Regions from separate parts of the Homo sapiens genome. Here regions 2, 3 and 4 are each linked to region 1. The links are contacts of gene promoters, found by promoter capture Hi-C in blood cells and fetal thymus (Javierre and others, 2016). All regions are on one chromosome and are shown on one strand. The core of a region is centred on a gene start or on the middle of the fragment in contact, and the rest is flanking DNA. Distances in the headings are between cores, read along the strand shown. Region 1 holds the start of NSUN2 (NOP2/Sun RNA methyltransferase 2). Region 2 overlaps ICE1 (interactor of little elongation complex ELL subunit 1). Region 3 has its middle 79 kb from the start of ICE1. Region 4 overlaps ADCY2 (adenylate cyclase 2).

Region 1 (4,678 bases), core at 608-3,107:
ACTTTCCCACTTATGTAAGTTAACTGAAGGACTGGCGCCTCCGGAGTTCTCCAAGCATCTTTACAAGATGCTATCAGCACAAGGGATCACCTTCATACAACTGAGACTAGAACCGAGCCATGAGGAATAGGTAACCCAGAAGGCACCTCCAGGACAGGTCAAGAAAGAGGTAGCTCCCAGAGTAGTAGCACGCTTGGGTGCTGAGACTCGGAAATGCTACATTGGCTGGTGCAGTCTGTACTGCGAAGTACCAGGAGACAACCTGACAGCAGACAGTGGTAACCTGTCTGTAATGGAAAACACTAAGAGACTACCTACCAGGAGACTGTTGTCAAGCTAAGTCTGTCCTTTTTCTGAAGGCAAAGCAGCCACTCTGCAACAGTTTTGATGTGAGAAAACAAGGGCTGTAAAAGGGAGCTGGCGGAAGTGGTGACATAAAGGAAGAGGCTGGATGTACTAGGAAGAGCTGGCTGAAATCAGTGACTCATAAAGCTGCAAATCGCAAATCGCATGAAAACTTGCGTAGCAATATAATGTTGATAAAAGCACCAGGTACTAGAACATTAGGATGTTTGCAAAGTATACCCAAGCTCTTTAACAGCAAATGCAGTACCAAGAAATATAATTCAAGTGATAGAGATTAATATCCCAAATAAATATTCGGCATGAAGCACTGTGGTACCTACCAACTCAGTGGCTGTGGAACTTCAACTTTCTGACCGTCCACCTCCAGGTCCTCCAATTCCTTAAAATATTTGTTCTTTAAGCAATGGAGAATCTCTTTTGCGTGGCTATTGAAAAATAAGGAAGTTTCAAACTGATCTAAAAAACTAAGTTAATACATTGTATCTTCTTAAATTTAAGACTGCAAGTGTTTTAAAACTAAAACCAACTTTTGCATGGAGAGTAAACATTCTTTAGTCACTACTTTTACACTGTATGCCTTCAAAATTTAAGCAATCCACACTGTTTGAGCCCTAAGAGCAACACTGCATTCCTTCTCTCCTAAGCATATCCTACCGTTAAGTTTTACTTGCGACTCATTTAGAAAGATGTAACTACAAAGATGGAGGGGGGGCGCGGAGGAGGGGAGAACCAAGGGGTTTTATGCATTCTCTATAAATTCTCTTACGTTCCAAAAGGTAAGACCCTCAGCTTCCCTCCTGGAAGATTCCCCAGGAGCCGAATCTTCCTCAGATCTCATTTTCATTTCGTCTTCTAACCTTGCGCCTGCAATACCTCCGTGACCATTTCATTGGACCCTGTGCTCCCCACCTCAATGCTTCCTGAATCCAAACCGCTGAAACGCCACGGTTCTCTGGCACTGTAACACTTGTCGAAGAAAACACCGTCGCCTTTAACCTCCAGCATCCTGGCCCCAACTCCCAAAAAATCAGGCACTGCCTCCCTACCTTTTGTAACCAGTAATTCTTAAAGTGGCCGGGAGCGGCTCCCTGAGAGCGTCCATGAACTGGCCCCACTCGCCCTCGGGCACGATCTTGAGCTCCTGGTAGTAGTGCTCGAACAGCTTGTTCTCCTTGACGATCTCGGGGTAGCCTCCTTCCCAGCCCTGAGGAAGGAAAGAGACGTCTACCCCGAGGCCCAAGGAGCCGCCCCCTCGCCGCCGCCTCGCAGGCCTCGGGGTCCGGGAAGCCCAGGAGGAGCCCCTGGCCCGCCCGCCGGGTCCCGGCTCCTACCGCCTCGCCGCGCTTTCCACCACCCTCGGCGCCATCCTCCGCGTCCTCCGGCCGCTGCTGTTGCTGGAGCCGCCGACCCCGCGACCGCCGCCCCATAGCCCACGCGGCCGCGCACGCAGCACGCAGAAACCGGCCCGCCACGGCCAGAACTCTAGCCCTACACCTCCCGGGACTTCCGGCCGGAAACCAAGGCCCCACGTGTCCGGGCCTGGTCCTTTCGGGGACCTTTGGGGACCGTCCAGGAATAAGCCCAAAGCGCACAACCCGTCTTTCAGAAAAGCGGCGTGACAGGGAAAACAGCGAACAGCTCTAAGGGGAAAAAAATGCTCCAGGAAGCAGCCACAAAGGCGTCTCCGCGCGAAGCGCCCAGGTTTCCCACGCGGGCTCAAGGAGCTCCGCGGACAGCCTGAAGCCGCGCGTGCGCAGAGCGGCGCGGGGTTACTGCGGCCCCGGCGTGGGTGGGGCGCTTGCAGGTCCCTCCCCGCGCAAGTGCTCGCCCCGCCCCCGGGGCCGCACCCACAGCCCCGGCTACCCCGGAGAAGCCTGACTTGAGAACCCTTTCTGCAGAGTCCCGGCAGTGCGGGACTCCGGTAGCCGCCCCTCCGGTAGCCGCCCCTCCTGCCCCCGCGCCGCCGCCCTATATGTTGCCCGCCGCGGCCTCTGGGGCATGGAGCACGCTGCCCAGCCCTGGCGATGGCAACGGCGACGGGGGTGGCGGAGGAGCGCCTGCTGGCCGCGCTCGCCTACCTGCAGTGCGCCGTGGGCTGCGCGGTCTTCGCGCGCAATCGTCAGACGAACTCAGTGTACGGCCGCCACGCGCTGCCCAGCCACAGGCTCCGAGTGCCGGCGCGGGCCGCCTGGGTGGTGCAGGAGCTGCCCTCGCTGGCCCTGCCGCTCTACCAGTACGCCAGCGAGTCCGCCCCGCGTCTCCGCAGCGCGCCCAACTGCATCCTCCTGGCCATGTTCCTCGTCCACTACGGGCATCGGTAACGTCCCCGGCCCCCGGCCCCCTACCCTACTCCCGGCCCGGCGTCCTCTCCGACCCTCCCCTCACTGCCCGGTGCCCTCTCCCCGAAGCCTCCCCCACCCAGATGCCCTCTCCCTGCCAGATCCCCCGGGGCGTCCCCCATCTGCACGGGTGCCCTTCCCCGAGTCCCCCGGCCCCGGGAGTTTGGAAACCAGAAGGGATTCGTCTGGAAAGGGCGGGAAACAAAGGACTGGAAGGGAGTGATGGAAAAAAACATGATGAAACTGATCTGGAAAGAGCCACTCAGTGGTCCTAGGTTTGGTTTCCTTAGCCGGGCGCGGTGGCGCCTGTCTGTGATCCCAGTTACTCGGGAGTCTGAGATGGAAGAATCGCTTGAACCCGAGAGGCGGAGGTTACAGTGAGCCGAGATCTCGCCACTGCCCTCCAGCCTGGGTGACAGAGCGAGACTCTGTCTCAAAATTAAATATATAAAAATAAAGAGTTAAAAAGTAAAAATGTAAAATAAAAATGAAGACTAGATTTTGTTCCCTTAGATCACGACTGTGGGGGCGGGGGGGAGGGGGTTGGCCTAGAGTCTAATGCTGATGGTCGGTCTTGAGGGCCACTGGTTTCTACTCCTTTCTGCCGGTTCCCCTTTTGGTATCTTTGGTGATGGTGGAGCTGTTTTCTCCCAGCCAAGTGATCAGCTGCAACTGGAAACCTGCTGTCCTAAAACTGCCTAGCAGTTTCTCCTTATAGGCTTGATCACTTTCAGAGACTTTCATGTCCACCTTATGCAAGGGACCCCAGGATTGTGGGGGTGGAAAGCCAGCAACCTTAAACCTTAAACAAACGAAGTCTTAAAGATGACTTCTAAATCTTTCAAGGTTTTTGTTTTTTTGAATATTTGAAAACTGGCTGTGTCTGAAATCTTCAAGCCTTCTAATAAGTTGGGGTTCTCTCCAGGTCGTATCTTTTGGCTTTTACACAGCCAAAGCAAACGACAGGTCGAAAGTTCAAAATTAAATTTTAAACGTTTTCATTCAGGCTCTGGAAAGCTTCACAGTTAAAAAGGATGTCTCTACACCCAAGGAAGTTGAACTCACTGGCTGTGTGACTATGGGCAGTTTACCCAACCTTTCTGATTTGGGGTCCCACCTTAAAACACTCACTTCCCAGAGAGACAGGAAGAACTCAGTGTGTGTTTATAAGCCTCTCTTCTTTCTCCTGGTGTCATGCATTCCAGCGAAGAGAAAGTACACAGCTCCACTACTTGGAACCAGTGTTGTACCCAGCACAGTTTTTGGTACCTGAGTTCCCTGAAAACCAGCACCTTACCCTGTAACTGGTGCAGTCTGTGTCCTCAGTGTGCTTTGATGACTTGCACTTTAAACAAGGGCAAGTCAACATTCATCAGAGGCTTAGTGAGTACTGTGTGCCTGAAACTCTTTACCATTGCTTTATTTTTTTTTTGGAATGGGATCAACCATTGCTACAATTTGAATATTAGTCAGACTTTGCTGTTTGTATATACTTTTCCATAAATATACCAGAAGCTGTATGTCTGTTTCTTTATGGCTAAAAGCAATCTCAGGTCAGAGTATTCGGTGCTATCCTAGTCCCATCAGTCATGACCCTGGATGAGTTACTAAGCTGCCCCGCAGCAAGGTTTCCCCACCTGTAGAATGGGCATGGTGATGGAACCCCCCTGTGGGATCACATGAATTTAGAGCAAAGGCAACTCCCTAAAATGCTTGCATGGTGCTGGCGCATCTGCGTGCTCAGTACACAATACCTAGCACTATTTTGCATTGCTGTGAATGCACATCCAGACATGTACTCTGTGTGTCATTCATGTGCACTGCTGCCAGCCTCATGTGCCAGCAAAACTGTGGTGTTGGAAATCAAGGGAACACTTGACAAAGTTTTGCCTGACATCCCAAGTGGAAGCTTTTTAACTTGAGACATCATGTTTCATTGTACCTACATTCACTCAAGCAGAAAAATGAATGCA
Region 2 (4,678 bases), core at 1,198-3,697, 1.2 Mb before region 1:
AGGGATGTGAAGGACCTCTTCAAGGAGAACTACAAACCACTGCTCAAGGAAAAAGGACACAAATGGAAAAACATTTCATGCTCATGGATAGGAAGAATCAATATCGTGAAAATAACCACACTGCCCAAAGTAATTTATAGATTCAATGCTATTTCCATCAAGCTACCACTGACTTTCTTCGCAGAATTAGAAAAAACTACTTTAAATTTCATATGGAGCCAAAAAACCCATATAGCCAACACAGTTGTAAGCAAAAAGAACAAAGCTGGAAGTGTCACAGTAGACTTCAAACTATACTAAAAGGCTATAGAAGCCAAAATAGCATGATACTGATACCAAAACAGACATATAGACCAATGGAACAGAACAGAGACCTCAGAAATAACTACACATCTACAGCCATCATCATGATCTTTGACAAACCTGATAAAAACAAGCAACGGGAAAAGGATTCCCTATTTATTAAATGGTGCTGGGAAAACTGGCTAGCCGTATGCATAAAACTGAAATTGGACCCCTTCCTTACACCTTATACAAAAATTAACTTAAGATGGATTAAAGACTTAAATGTAAAACCCAAAACCATAAAAACCCTAAAAGAAAAACTAGGCAATACCATTCAGGACATAGGCATGGGCAAAGACTTCATGACTAAAACGCCAAAAGCAATTGCAACAAAAACCTGAATTGACAAATGGGATCTCATTAAACTAAAGAGCTTCTGCACAGCAAAAGAAACTACCGTCAGAATGAACAGGCATCCTACAGAATGGGAGAAATTTTTTGCAATCTATCCATCTGACAAAGGTCCAATATCCAGAATCTACAAGGAATGTAAACAAATTTACAAGAAAAAACAACCCTATCAAAAAGTGGGCAAAGGATACGAACAGACACTTCTCAAAAGAAGACATTTATGCGGCCAACAAACATGAAAAAAAGCTCATCATTCACTGGTTATTAGAGAAACGCAAATCAAAACCACTATGAGGTACCATCTCACACTAGTTAGGATGGTGATCATTAAAAAGTCAGGAAACAACAGATGCTGGTGAGGCTGTGGAGAAATAGGAATGCTTCTACACTGCTGGTGGGAGTGGAAATTAGTTCAAGCATTGTGGAAGACAGTGTGGTGATTCTCAAGGATCTAGAAACAGAAATACCATTTGACCCAGCAATCTCACACTAGTGGGTATATACCCAAAGAATTATAAATCATTCCACTATAAAGACTCATGCACACATATGTTTATTGCAGCACTATTTACAATAGCAAAGACTTGGAACCAACCCAAGTGTCCATCAGTGAGAGACTGGATAAAGAAAATGTGGCACATAATATACCATGGAATACTATGCAGCCATAAAAATGAGTTATGTCCTTTGCAGGGACATGGATGAAGCTGGAAGCCATCATTCTCAGCAAACTAACACAGGAACAGAAACCCAAGCACTGCATGTTCTCACTCATAAGTGGGAGTTGAACAGTGAGAACACATGGACACAGGGGAACATCACACACTGGGGCCTGTCGGGGCATGGGGGGTAAGGGGAGGGAGAGCATTAGGACAAATACCTGTGGGACTTAAAACCTAGATGATGGGTTGATAGGTGCAGCAAACCATCATGGCACATGTATACCTATGTAACAAACCTGTACGTTCTGCATGTGTATTCCACAACTGAAAAAAGAAAGCTCTCTTAGTTTTGACCTGACTTCTCTATCTGCAGCATGTATTCTTTGCCCCTGGGGAATATAAAACAAGCTTCATCCAATTTCTGCATTATAGCCCTTAGATACTTTGAAGATAATTATGACTTTTAAGTATCTTTGGATTTTTCTTTTTCTTTTTTTTTTTTTTTTTTGAGATGGAGTCTGGCTCTGTTGCCCAGGCTGGAGTGCAGTGGCACCATCTCGGCTCACTGCAAGCTCCGCCTCCCGGGTTTGCGCCATTCTCCTGCCTCAGCTTCCCTAGTAGCTGGGACTACAGGCGCCCGCCACCACGCCCGGCTAATTTTTGTATTTTTAGTAGAGACGGGGTTTCATCATGTTAGCCAGGATGGTCTCGATCTCCTGACCTCGTGATCCACCCACCTCGGCCTCCCAAAGTGCTGGGATTACAGGTGGAGCCACCGCGCCCAGCCGGATTTTTCTTAATGAAAACTCACAGATAGCATCATTTGAAATAAGGTTAGTGTTTGAGAATCGGTTATATAAGTCAGTCTAAAAATAGATCACAGTAGGAAATACCCTGTGAATTTTGTTACTGTATCGGCAAATTTGCATTCCTCCTCTGTGTGTACTTTGCATGCAAATATAGCAACATTGCCCTAAGTAAATAAAATGGTTCTAGACAAAAACCTGGTTACAAAGTAGACACCAAATTTCACTGGAAATAACCAATAATACACTTGGAGATAAGTTACCAAACAAGAGTGTAGGAGAACCAAATGATTGCCAAAGACTATGAATTTGGTAGAGATACATCAGAAGATAAGCAGAGGCACAGAAGTGGAAATGAAACTATGCCATGTGGTGTACAGGTTCAAAACTGTTTTGCTGAATTCCTTAGTTCAAGATACCCTCAAGAACAATTTTCATTCTAGCTGTGGAGCGCTAGGGAACACAGGAGGGTCAGTGATGGCATTCCCCATAGTTAGGTGACATCTATATATCTGGAAATGCTGATTTCAGTAGCAGCTTCTCTTATGAATTCAGGAAAAAATGCTCATGCTTTTGACTCATTCTAAATTGTGAAATCTTTTTTGAGAGTTAAAAAAAATTAGAAGAGATGTTTTAAGGTGTAAATAAATATGTTATCCTAGATAATCTGTGGAATTTTCAAAACAATATGGTATTTTTTTAAGTCACACTTTAAAATATGGTGATTTTTTTGTTCTTGTTTTACTGGTTGTGTTTCTGTATTGGTTAATCTGGAGAGGAAATAAGAGTGAAGACTGTTTTTTGTGGTCAGCAGCCTTATACGACAGCGGAAGCAGCCTCTTTGCGTTTATAGAGGAGGGTCAGCTGTACCTGTGATTTATCTTGGTGTCTTCTCCAGTGTCTCTTCTAACTAGTGTTTATCTTCTGGGATTACCAAATTTGGCTGGCCATCCAAATTGCCAGAGAAGCTTCTTAAAAAACATAGATTCTCAGGTTCCATCTTCCAAGGTTCTGATAGTGTTAGAGTAGTGTCTGCAAAGCTCTATAGGCATGCTAATGAAATAATGGGTTCGGAAAAGAATGATTGCCATAAATAAAATAGTATACACGGTCATTCACCACATAACAATGTTTTCATCAGCAGTGGAGCACATACCAGAAGGTGATCTCAGAAGATGATAATACCTTGTTTTCCTGTACCCTTTCTATGTTTAGATACACAAATGCTTACTCAAGTGTTATAGTTGCCTCCAGTATTCGGTACAGGAACATGCTGTACAGATTTGTAGCCTATCAGTAGGCTACCCCATATAGCCTAGGTGTGTAGTGGCTACTGCATCCATGTTTGTGCAAGTGTACTCTAGGATGATGTTTGTCCAAGGACAGAATCTCCTCAAAGATGAATTTCTTAAAATGTGGTCTCCTGACTAAGCGACCTGTGACTGTACTTTACCTTTCATTTAGATGTCACAAAACTCTTTTAAAGAAAACTATTTAAGATTATATACTTTCAAATATGTACCTTAAAATATGTGAATTAAGAATATGTTAATAGTTTATTTAAAAAGAAGGATGTGTAATTGTAGGGATAAAATATGGCTTGTAATTTTGTTCAAATCAAGTCTAGTTTATTCTTTGAATCTAAAATTCTGGCTGTTGAGAGCCAAATAATTTATGACTATTTAATAATATGTATTATTTAGAGTAATATATGCATACTTATACAATTAAGACTGATATACAATACAATTATATGTTATAGAGAATAAGAATAATGTGTAATTAACATAATATATAATTGACAATACCATGTACTAAAATGCTTATAAACATATAAAAGCAGTTCAGAGGATGGATAATTAGAAAGCGTAATGTCAAAGTAGGAGCAAAGTCAGGAAGAATAAGCCCTTCTCAGGTCTGCTGATGAAGTCGTGTGCATGAGCAAGATGGGTGTGGGGAGGCTGGAGCACAGCCTAGTGGGCTGCCACGTGTGCACAGGTGCACCAGCACAGGAGAGGAGCAGCAGAGCCTGGTCCTGCCTGTCCTTTTCGTGCCGTGGCACTATACGCAGGAGATGGGACTCAGAGCGAGGCAGTTGCTGGGTGACAAGGACAGTAGTGTGGGCTGAGGGCAAAGGGTGAAAGTGAGTGAAGCCTGCTGTTTAGGCCTGGCAGATTTCTCAGAGGTGACATTAACACCCCCACCCCCCAACACACACACACACACACACACACACACACACACACTCATCTGGATGAGAGTTTGAATTGTTACTAAGGAGAAACTGTTAGTGAACTTTCTTGCCATTTCTGAATCTGACCTTGACTGAAAAATTGAGTAAAAAATCAAGTTGGTAGGCTGTGATTTAATAATAATAACTTAAGTCACACACTAATCTTCATAAAATAAAGGAATTGTCTTTATTCTTTTTTTGTTTTTTTTGAGACGGAGTTTCGCTCTTGTTGCCCAAGCTGGAGTGCAATGGCGTGATCTCAGCTCACTGCAACCTCCACC
Region 3 (4,678 bases), core at 1,479-3,978, 1.1 Mb before region 1:
GTCTCTCTGCCTGTTCTCTGGAGCCTGCCTTTTTCCTGGGTGCATTGCCCCTTCTCACTGCCATATTGTATGCATTCATATGTGAGGTTCTTCTTTTTCTGCAAGAAAAAAGAACAAAACACATTAAGGATTTCAAGATTATATCCACCTTATTCAATAGATTTTACCCCAGATAATTTCACAACCTTTTTATATAATTCCAGATTTGATTAAACACTTCCCTTCTCAGTTCTGAAACTTGCATGGACTTAGTCAACCAAAATGTTTTCTCACAAAAACCTCAAAGAACAGTTAACACACACAATTTCTAGTGGTCATGTAAAAAGATAGTAATATATATATTTCTACCTATTGATTCATTTAAAATTAGAAATAATTGCTAAGCATTTTGAGAAAATAATTAGGACTAGTTTGAAGTTTAATTTGGGTAGAAGTCAGTTTGCAGGAATGATACATTTACTTTTAAATTTAGTCATATCCATATTCAGGTCAACATTTACAGTGACCAAAATAAAGACTAATATAAAAATCATTTTAAGAGAATATTTTTAAAACAGAATATTTTTACAGTTGCAATGGACCAGCGTCCTGAGGAAGGAGCAGGCTTCCCCTGTTGATGCTCTGCAAGGTAGACCTGCAGAGGACTGCCTGGCTCCCTTGTCTAAGAAGGGCAAACATCTTCACCTCTCTTAGATGAAGCCTGAAATGTGCTTTAAATCCATAATCCCTGGGTACTCCTGGAAACCACAAACCTGCCCACTCATTGTCAGTAGAGCCCAGTAGAAGTCAAAAATAAAGAGGGGGTTTCTGCAGAATTGTAGACTAATAGCATGATTAAGATGCTGACTAAAATATATATATATTTAACTTTTATATTTTGAGATGAAGTCTCACTCTGTCACCCAGGCTGGAGTGCAGTGGTGCGATCTCAGCTCACTGCAATCTCTGCTTCCCGGGTTCAAGCGATTCCCCTGCCTCAGTCTCCTGAGTAGCTGGGACTACAGGTGCCTGCCACCATGCCTAGCTAATTTTTGTATTTTTCAGTAGAGACGGGGTTTCACCACATTGGCCAGGCTGGTCTCGAACTCCAGACCTTGTGATCTGCCCACCTCGGCCTCCCAAAGTGCTGGGATTACAGGCATGTACTAAAATATTTTTAATGCACAGTTGAGCTAGCAGCAAATAAAGGAATCTCTTCAAAGTGAGAAAGGACAAGAAAGCTTAACTCCCCAGGAGAAAGGAGCACTGAAACCATTTGCCCTAGATTTGAACAGGGTGGGATGTAGACAGTCTCGGGTGGGATGCAGATGGAAGGTTACAGGCCACATAGAAGGGCAATGGAGACAAAGTCTGGGGCCAAAATTAGGGGATGTCATATCAGCGACAACCCCACCCCCAAAAGCCAAGTCTCACATAGGGAGATATCTTGGGGGTAAGCCAAAAAAAAAAAAAAGCCCCCAAAGAGGAAGAAGATAGGGATGCTAACCTACTGTTAACCTAACTGTGGGTGGATCAGAGAAAAAAGCACACACAAACAGCAATATCTCCCAGAAGAATTTCTACCCAAAGGCCTGCACTCATGAATTTGGGACAGGAATATATACTGCTAGTGGGCTCAATTCCCCCAAAATGTGTTTTCAGTGATCCCAGGTTAGAAGTACCATCGAGGACCTGCAAAGGCAGTTGCAAATCTTCACTACAGGGAAGTTATTTTGATTCCAGTCCTTAAAAGATCCCCACACATGAAGTTCCAAGGATCATGAATTCATACTCCTACCCACACAATCCTAAGCAGATGAGAAATAAAAGAACAAATAAAACATCATGAGAGAATTTCCAGGAACAACAAACTGTGCTTAGAGGCAGACTTACAAAATTTGTGTATATTTTATTTACCACATTTAGAATGTCTAAAATATGTGTGTTTAATATGTTTAAGAAATAAGAGAGGAATGCAAAAGTATGACAAAAGAATAAGAGATTACAAAAATTTACCAAATTTGAACAAGAGCAAAATGGAGCTTTTAACAACAAGACCACACGAACATAAATATTTCAAAGTATAAAGCCAGGAAACAAGGATAAAAGCAGATTAGTTACAAATGATGAGATAATTTATGTATGATTTGTCTGAAAATACCCAGAAAACAGCACAGGAAGACACAGTGATAGACAATAGAAAGTAAGAGGATGGAAGATTTCTCTTATGTTTAGAATGTAGAAAATAACAAGAAACTATTATTTTAATGAAATAACCCAAGCAAGATGTAAGAAGCAACAAAATCATAGTCTTTCTAATCAGAGAGCTGATGATTAAAAAAAAAGAACCCATACATGATTAAATTCTAGAAAATAGCAGAGAAGACAGATATATTTTATCTCTGTCTTCATTAGAACATGCTTGAAAATCAGATATTATTATCATTATGTCTGCTTCTAAAGCTGAGGCACAGGTAGGCTAAGTGCCCTTAACTTCAATGAAAATACAGACTTGTAAAAAGCCCTGAGTAGATTCTCTAAATCTGCCTGCTGATTCCAATGTCCTCATGAAGCATCTAATGGCCTAAGATAAAATCTCTTCCTTTTCTGGGAAGGGAAGAGATTCTCATTCTTCTTGTAAACACAAGAGAAAAAGAAATCTGCCATAGATGGGGATAAAGATGAATTAGGATGAACTTTAGTAAAGGTGCAATGGCATATATGGCTGACAGATTAGAATTCTGAGGCTCCTCAATAATAGAATATGCTTCCCCCACAGGCTTTCCTCAAATGCTCAGGAACAGTATGTGTGATGGTTAATGTTAGGTGTCAGTTTGACTGGATTGAAGGATGCCTAGATGGCTGGTAAAGTATTGTATCTGGGTGTGTCTGTGAGGGTGTGTCTTGAGTCAGTGGACTGGGAGAGGAAGACCCTCCCTCCATGTAGGTGGGCACCATCCCATTGGCTGCCAGCATGGCTGGAACCAAGCAGGAGGAGGAAGGTGGGATAGGCTGGCTTGCTGGATGTTCTGGTTTCCTTCTTTTTCCTGTGCTGGATGCTTCCTTCTGCTCCTCCTGCCCTTGGACATCAGACTCCAGGTTCTTCAGCCTTTGAACTCTGGGACTTGCACTAGTGGCTTGGCAACGACTCTCAGACCCTCATGCACAGACTGAAGGCTGCACTGTTGGCTTTCCTGGTTTTGAGGCTTTAGGACTTGGACTGAGCCACTACCAGCTTCTCTCTTCCCCAGCTTGCAGACGGCCTGTTGTGGGACTTTGCCTTGTGATCGTGTGAGCCAATTCTCCCTATAAAAACAAACAAACAAACAAAAAAAAAAAAAAACAAAAGAAAAAACCAAACCAAAACAAAAAAACACTCCCCCTTTTATATGTACATATATCCTGTTAGTTCCATCCATCTGGAGAATCCTGACTAATACAGTATACCAGAGCCTGCGGTGGAGACCAGATAGAGACCTGGAGATTCCCCTGAAGTCCAAGGCACCTTCTCCCAGACCAAGGCAACACCTACTGAAGGAGGAGAGAAGCAGAGCGTGAGATCTGTGATAAATCAACCCAAGGCACTCACCATTTTTAGTTCCCAAGAGCCGGGCATAAACAAGAGACCTGAGGGAATCCTCCTCTCTTAAAAAACAAAAGCAGTGGACCAACTATGAAGAGGAAAATTTCTGCCTTGAACTGTATCTGAAAGATGTTATTTGGGAAAGAAAAGAAAGAGAAGAATGGGCAAAGAAGTAATCACATGGTTGAAGTCTGTGGATGCAACTGTTAATGAAGATGGTTAAACTTGAAATAAACAATTTTAAGAATTATTTGGTCTGCAGATATTTTACTTTAAATAAATGTCTATTGTAATGGTAAAAAAAACAAAAACAAAAACAAAACAAAACAAAAACAAAACAAAACCAAAAAAACCTCAGGCTTTCAACTGACAATAGCTACGGGTGGGGCAGAAAAGATGAAAGAAACTCCTCCAGGGCATTCCAGACAGAGCAGGAGCTCTATGTGGATCCAAAAGCCTGGGCTGGACTGGAGAGCAAAGAAGATTCTCCAACAATGTACAAACCATCATTTGAGTTTTAAATCAGAGAGAGATCTCTCATGATTTGAAAAACTGGTGATTTGGGTGACATGAAAAACTTTGGGGAATTTCGCTAGTGCTCAGAAACCCACACACTGCAGAATGGAAAATCCTGAGCCCACTTTCAAAACATTTGAACCTAGTAGTAAACTGAAGCAAGCTTAACTTGCCAAATAGCTCAGACACAGCTTAACTGCAGAATACGTCTATTGAGTGACATGAAACCAGTGCCTGACATAAGAAGGGAAATCGTGTGCACTTTGAGCTCTGCTGTTCTGATATCTTACAATAAAGAATAGAACAGTTCATAACTAGACATACAGATGGGCCAGATGTTGAAATTATTTGATGGGGGCTTTAACTAAAAGTGTGCTAAATAATATTTTGGAAAAAGTGTACAGCATGTAGGAAGAGATGCCGAATATCACCAGAGATATGGAAGCTGTGGAAGAGAATGGAGTGGAAGTGCTACACATGAGAAATATAATATCAGAAATAAGTACCTTATTGGATTTTGTAATAGAGTGACTTAGCAGAGGAAATAATCAGTGAACTTCAGGACAAGTTATTAGAAAGTATCCAAGCTGAAATACAAAT
Region 4 (4,678 bases), core at 1,103-3,602, 1.1 Mb after region 1:
TTTTATTCAAGAGTCTTAGTTGCAGCTGTCCACGTTTGGCTGGCCCAAGGAAATATCTTCTTTTCCCTATGGGTGTTAAAAGCTCACCCCCTAAGTGCCATAGCCTGAGTCCTGATCCAGGACACTCCTGGACCCACCCCACAGCCTCAGTTCCTTTATCACTGAGCTCTCTCTTTGTTTCTGTGCCCTGGTAATTTCCCTTTGAGTCCATCATTAAAAATAGTAAACAGAATCAACACGTATTTGACGAGTTCCTACCATTTAACAAACACTATACTGGCCTCTGGGAAAACAGAGACAAGTGCGATATGGTCACTGTCCTCAACCACCTCTGCATTTGGCCAGAGACAAGCATGTCAGCAAAAATGATGCAATGTGGTACCCAGTGGAGCAACAGTGCAGGGATGTGGCTCACCCAGGGCGAAAAGAAGAAACAGGTTGATTTTGTAAAATATGATTGATTGGCATAAAGAAGTCTTCCTATGGGAAATTAAAGGACAATTAAATAATCAAAGTACACATCACAGTCTTTGTGACATTAAATGTTACAAGTAATTATTGCTCCGGCTTATTCCTGCCATTCAGAATGACGGTCCTCAGCTAATTAAAATGCCAAAGTAGATGTTCCTTTAGGCAAATACACAAAAGTACATGTTTATATGAAACATGAAACCACTATATTTTCCAAGCAAGATTTTTAAGATGGATTTCGTTTTTCTAATAATAAAAGTTTGCTTCTCAGCCACTCTGATATCTTTATAACTTTTCTGGATTTTTTTTTTCATTTTATTAAGTTCACTTAATATGAGCTTCTACTTCTCTTCAAGTGTCTCATCTTATTGTTAAAATGGAAACTAATGAAACTGTAAATGAAGTCTACTTTTATAATGATTAAGTTAAATTATGAAGAATTAATTTTAGAGTGAAAAATTTAGATTTAACTTAATTTGAGAGACTACCAGTTGTTTCCATTGCAAGTGGATCAAAACAAGGGAAGAAAAAAAAAAGGAAAGAGAGAGGGAAGGAAGAGAAGCTGGCTGATATTTTTGGTGGAGCATGTATGAACATTTTGTTTTTCTGAGGAAGATCTGCATGTACTGGATTAAGAACATTGGGATTCATCCCACGTTTTTCCTACCACACCCCACTGCTCGTTGTCCCCATCATCAATTCTATGATAGGATTTTCCTTTTTTTTTTTTTTTTTTTTCTGAGACACAGTCTTGCTCTGTCACTCAGGCTGGAGTACAGTAGTGCAATCTCAGCTCACTGCAACCTCTGCCTCCCGGGTTCAAGCAGTTTTCCTGCTTCAGCCTCCTTAGTAGCTGGGATTACAGGCACCCGCCACCACACCCAGCTTATTTTTGTCTTTTTAGTAGAGACAGGGTTTCACCATGTTGGCCAGGATAGTCTCAAACTCCTGACCTCATGATCTGCCCATCTCAGCCTCCCAAAGTGCTGGGATTACAGGCGTGAGCCACAGTGCCTGGCTAGGATTTTCCTATATATTTCTTCTTTTATTACATCTCCCACTGCATTTAGTATCAATCCCTTGTTTGTTAATGGATGAATGTGATATTCACATCCAAGTGCATTTCTAGAAGGTACACGGTGAGCTCACTGTAAGTAAGAGCCGATCATGGGGTTCAGTGAGATGATCAAGGAAGGGAGGAAACAGATGTGGTTGAAATTATGCCAGGAGTTAAACCAAAGATCAAAGAAAATGACTCCACTGACTGGGCTCACAGCAGGCATTTTCTCATTTTCAGTTGAATAGTATCTTCCAAATAAAGGCCAAAATATTTTTTGAGATGTTGTCATTTATAACATTTAATTAGGATGGTCGGAATTTTGATAAACATTTTTCCACCAGAGCCTTTAATACTTAATCAAAAACAGGATAAACTGAAGCCAATGATCATATCAAGAGCCAAGTTGTAATTTTTCTACAGAGCTACACACTGAATCAAGGGTCTCCATTTTTCTTAATCAGGTTCCTTCCATTTTAGAATCTTAGTCCTGTTTCTCCTCTTATCCCCATCATTGGTTTCTTCTGCTCCCCCCACCAGCTTGATCCTCCACTTCCTCTTTCATCCCTGTCATTGCAACTGTCACCTCTCTGTTCTCTTCTACTTTCTTGTCCTTGCCAGCAGCAATGCCTACCAATTTTTACACTTCAGAACAGGTTTACTTACCTTGTCACTGCTTGGTGACAAGGAAAGATACCGCCTGTCTCCCTGACCTCTGGAACAACACATTTGGCATAAGTTTTAAAACAATTGTGAGGGAGAACTTTGAGGTATGCATGGAAAATGCATGGGTGAATAATTGAACCAAGCGCATCCTGAACCTGTTGTGCCAAACCCATGTCTGCCAAACCCCCATGCGTCTAGTAAGTAGCTGCAAGTGCTGCCGATTCGTCATTTTGCCTGGCATGTCACACGAACAGAAAAAAATTCCTGCATATCTGCCCGGGTCTGTTTTAGTAAGTTACTAGCCTATGAGCAGAATATAACATATTCCTATTAGATTAGCATATTTGACAAGATTATCACCACGTATTTTTCTAAATCTTCAAACACAGTAACTTGTTTTAATTTTGTAATTTCAAAAATTTGTCTGTGTAATAACTAGCTAATATTTTACCTAATTGACAGTGATATGCAATCTTAGCTAGATGTACATTTTCCCCTGAAGTAATAAACTTTTTAAATGTTCTACTGTTAACATTTTCATTATCATATCTATTGATAATTTCTGTGTACAGAAATTATCATAATTTCACAAATATAAGAGCATTGATTTTAATAATTTTCTCTTAAAGGTACTAACTGTAGTCAATCTGGATGTGAATATATAAATACTGTCTTAATTTGTGAGAATCAAACCAAATGCCATTATCTAATGGAATCTGAGCTAGATGAGCATAATATTTCATTTGAAGCTCGGCTCTTCATATTGTATTATAGGTTGGTGCAAAAGTAGTTGCGGTTTAAAGGTAATGGCAAAAAACAAAACAAACAAACAAAAAAAACTCAGCTACTCAGGAGGCTGAGACAGGAGAATCGCTTGAACCTAGGAGGCGGAGGTTGCAGTGAGCAGAGATCGTGCCATTGAACTCCAGCCTGAGTGGTGAGAGAGCAAGACTCCGTCTCAGGAAAAAAAAAAAGAAAAAACAAAACAAAACAAAACAAAAAACCTTCTTCTACGGAACACAGATCTGACTGTGTTTTGTGATATTAGTATTATTAGAAGTAGCATGCATTAAACAATAATGATAACCATTCGTGGGTGGATGTTCTCTGGCTACCTGACCCTCTAAGATGCTGCATGTTCAGAGCATTAAGGGACATCTTGCTGCATGACAGATTTCCTGCCATCACCAACCCCTATCCAAACCTGCTCTTAAGTAGAAGCGTCAAGTACAGATCTGGTTCTTCTGTTGCCGGTGATCAGATGTCCTGCAGAGCTGGGCCGAGGGCGCCCCCTGCCGCCAGTCAGCAGTCCAGCTCTGGGCAGCCTGTGCGGCTGAGGGCAGCAGTGGCTCAAGCTCCCTGGTAGGTACTCAGAGAAATGAGACGAGGGCGCAGGAAAATCAGCCCAAGAAGTGAACCCGGAACCTGGTCCTGCGTCTCCCTCAGGGGGGCATGTGCGCTGTACACAAACATTGTTCATCTTTTCCTATCAGGAGCTGGAAGGAAGAAAAAAAAAAACATGGTGGAAAGGAGTAGAGAGGAGGAGATTTTGTTGTTGTTTACATAGATATAAAGGAAATAGGATTTTGGTCACTAAAATGTTTCTAAGAAACATTGTGTTTTCTTCATTGAAATAACAGGAAGAGCTAACACTTGTAAGTCCTGTTGCACGCACCTTCTCTAACTCGTTTAAACCTCTGCAAAGACAGAGGAGGCAGGTACTGTTATTATCCCCGTTTCAGAGAGGAAGAAACTGGGACCCCATTTCAGAGAGGATCATTAATTTGCGCAAGTTTCCCAGCAGTAGAGGTTTGAAGCTAGGCCATGGCTGATTCTTTAACCTTCTCAACTCCTCTCTCCTGTGTTTAGACGATCATTCAACTGTTGTATCAACATTGAACATACAGCAATGCTTAGGGCAACAATAATTTTAGGAACAATACAAAAATAAGATGTGAAAGAAGTAGAGAACTGAAAGCGCAGCCTATTTGTGCTGTTCAGGAATATTCTTTATTTGAATTTGAATTTCACTGATGTCACACCAGCTTTGTTTGCCAATAGGTTAACTTGGTAGTATCGATCAAAGGGCATAATTTATGTTATTCCTTCTTCTGAATTTCTTGAAATCATCACCTTGTTTTGTTTCCAAGACACATAGCCTTGGGACCACAGGCCCGTTAGTGTGAAGATAACAATGTCAATCCCTGGAGGACTTTTACTTCCTGCTTCTCATATCAGATAACGTATGCAAATTATGCCCACGCAGCATCTGCATAGGCAGAGTTGATGTCACCCACAGTTCAGTGGAACTCTGTGTACTGCTCCACACTCATACCTGGGAGAATATGGTGAGAATCCTTGGAAAGGTGGCCCTCAAGATGGGTGAGCTTATGCACTGAGACCCCATGGTGAATGGGGAGCAAATGCTGGCTGTCGTTCCCCAAAGATCTCAATTCCTTCTTGTATCAAAAAAGTTTCCCCAAC

What was found. The method cuts DNA at HindIII sites, captures the fragments that hold promoters and counts their contacts. A CHiCAGO score of 5 or more calls a contact.
Region 2: a contact is called between a fragment that was not itself captured here and the fragment with the promoter of NSUN2 in region 1, in 8 of 17 cell types (naive CD8 T cells, total CD4 T cells, naive B cells and 5 more). The highest score is 13.3, in naive CD8 T cells.
Region 3: a contact is called between a fragment that was not itself captured here and the fragment with the promoter of NSUN2 in region 1, in 9 of 17 cell types (naive CD8 T cells, total CD4 T cells, total B cells and 6 more). The highest score is 15.4, in naive CD8 T cells.
Region 4: a fragment that was not itself captured here is called in contact with the fragment with the promoter of NSUN2 in region 1 in 1 of 17 cell types (monocytes); the score reaches 7.6 in monocytes.

Annotation. Positions count from the first base shown.
Region 1 is chr5:6,631,187-6,635,864 of GRCh38, forward strand. It overlaps NSUN2 (NOP2/Sun RNA methyltransferase 2), which reads right to left and starts at 1,858. Exons shown (of 19, transcript NM_017755.6): 1 at 1,698-1,858; 2 at 1,413-1,570; 3 at 687-791. The coding sequence starts at 1,793. It overlaps SRD5A1 (steroid 5 alpha-reductase 1), which reads left to right and starts at 2,254. Exons shown (of 5, transcript NM_001047.4): 1 at 2,254-2,683. The coding sequence starts at 2,391. RefSeq lists enhancers at 1,954-2,465, 2,466-2,977 and a silencer at 2,101-2,490. The HindIII fragment of the contact is 4,632 bases long and covers 1-3,720 here.
Region 2 is chr5:5,478,402-5,483,079 of GRCh38, forward strand. The region is part of intron 17 of ICE1 (interactor of little elongation complex ELL subunit 1); the gene reads left to right. Among named protein-coding and RNA genes, the nearest start is that of ICE1, 58 kb to the left of the region's middle. The HindIII fragment of the contact is 1,366 bases long and covers 1,765-3,130 here.
Region 3 is chr5:5,499,744-5,504,421 of GRCh38, forward strand. No RefSeq gene overlaps it. Among named protein-coding and RNA genes, the nearest start is that of ICE1, 79 kb to the left of the region's middle. The HindIII fragment of the contact is 3,021 bases long and covers 1,219-4,239 here.
Region 4 is chr5:7,751,706-7,756,383 of GRCh38, forward strand. The region is part of intron 15 of ADCY2 (adenylate cyclase 2); the gene reads left to right. Among named protein-coding and RNA genes, the nearest start is that of CFAP90, 97 kb to the right of the region's middle. The HindIII fragment of the contact is 4,872 bases long and covers 1-4,678 here.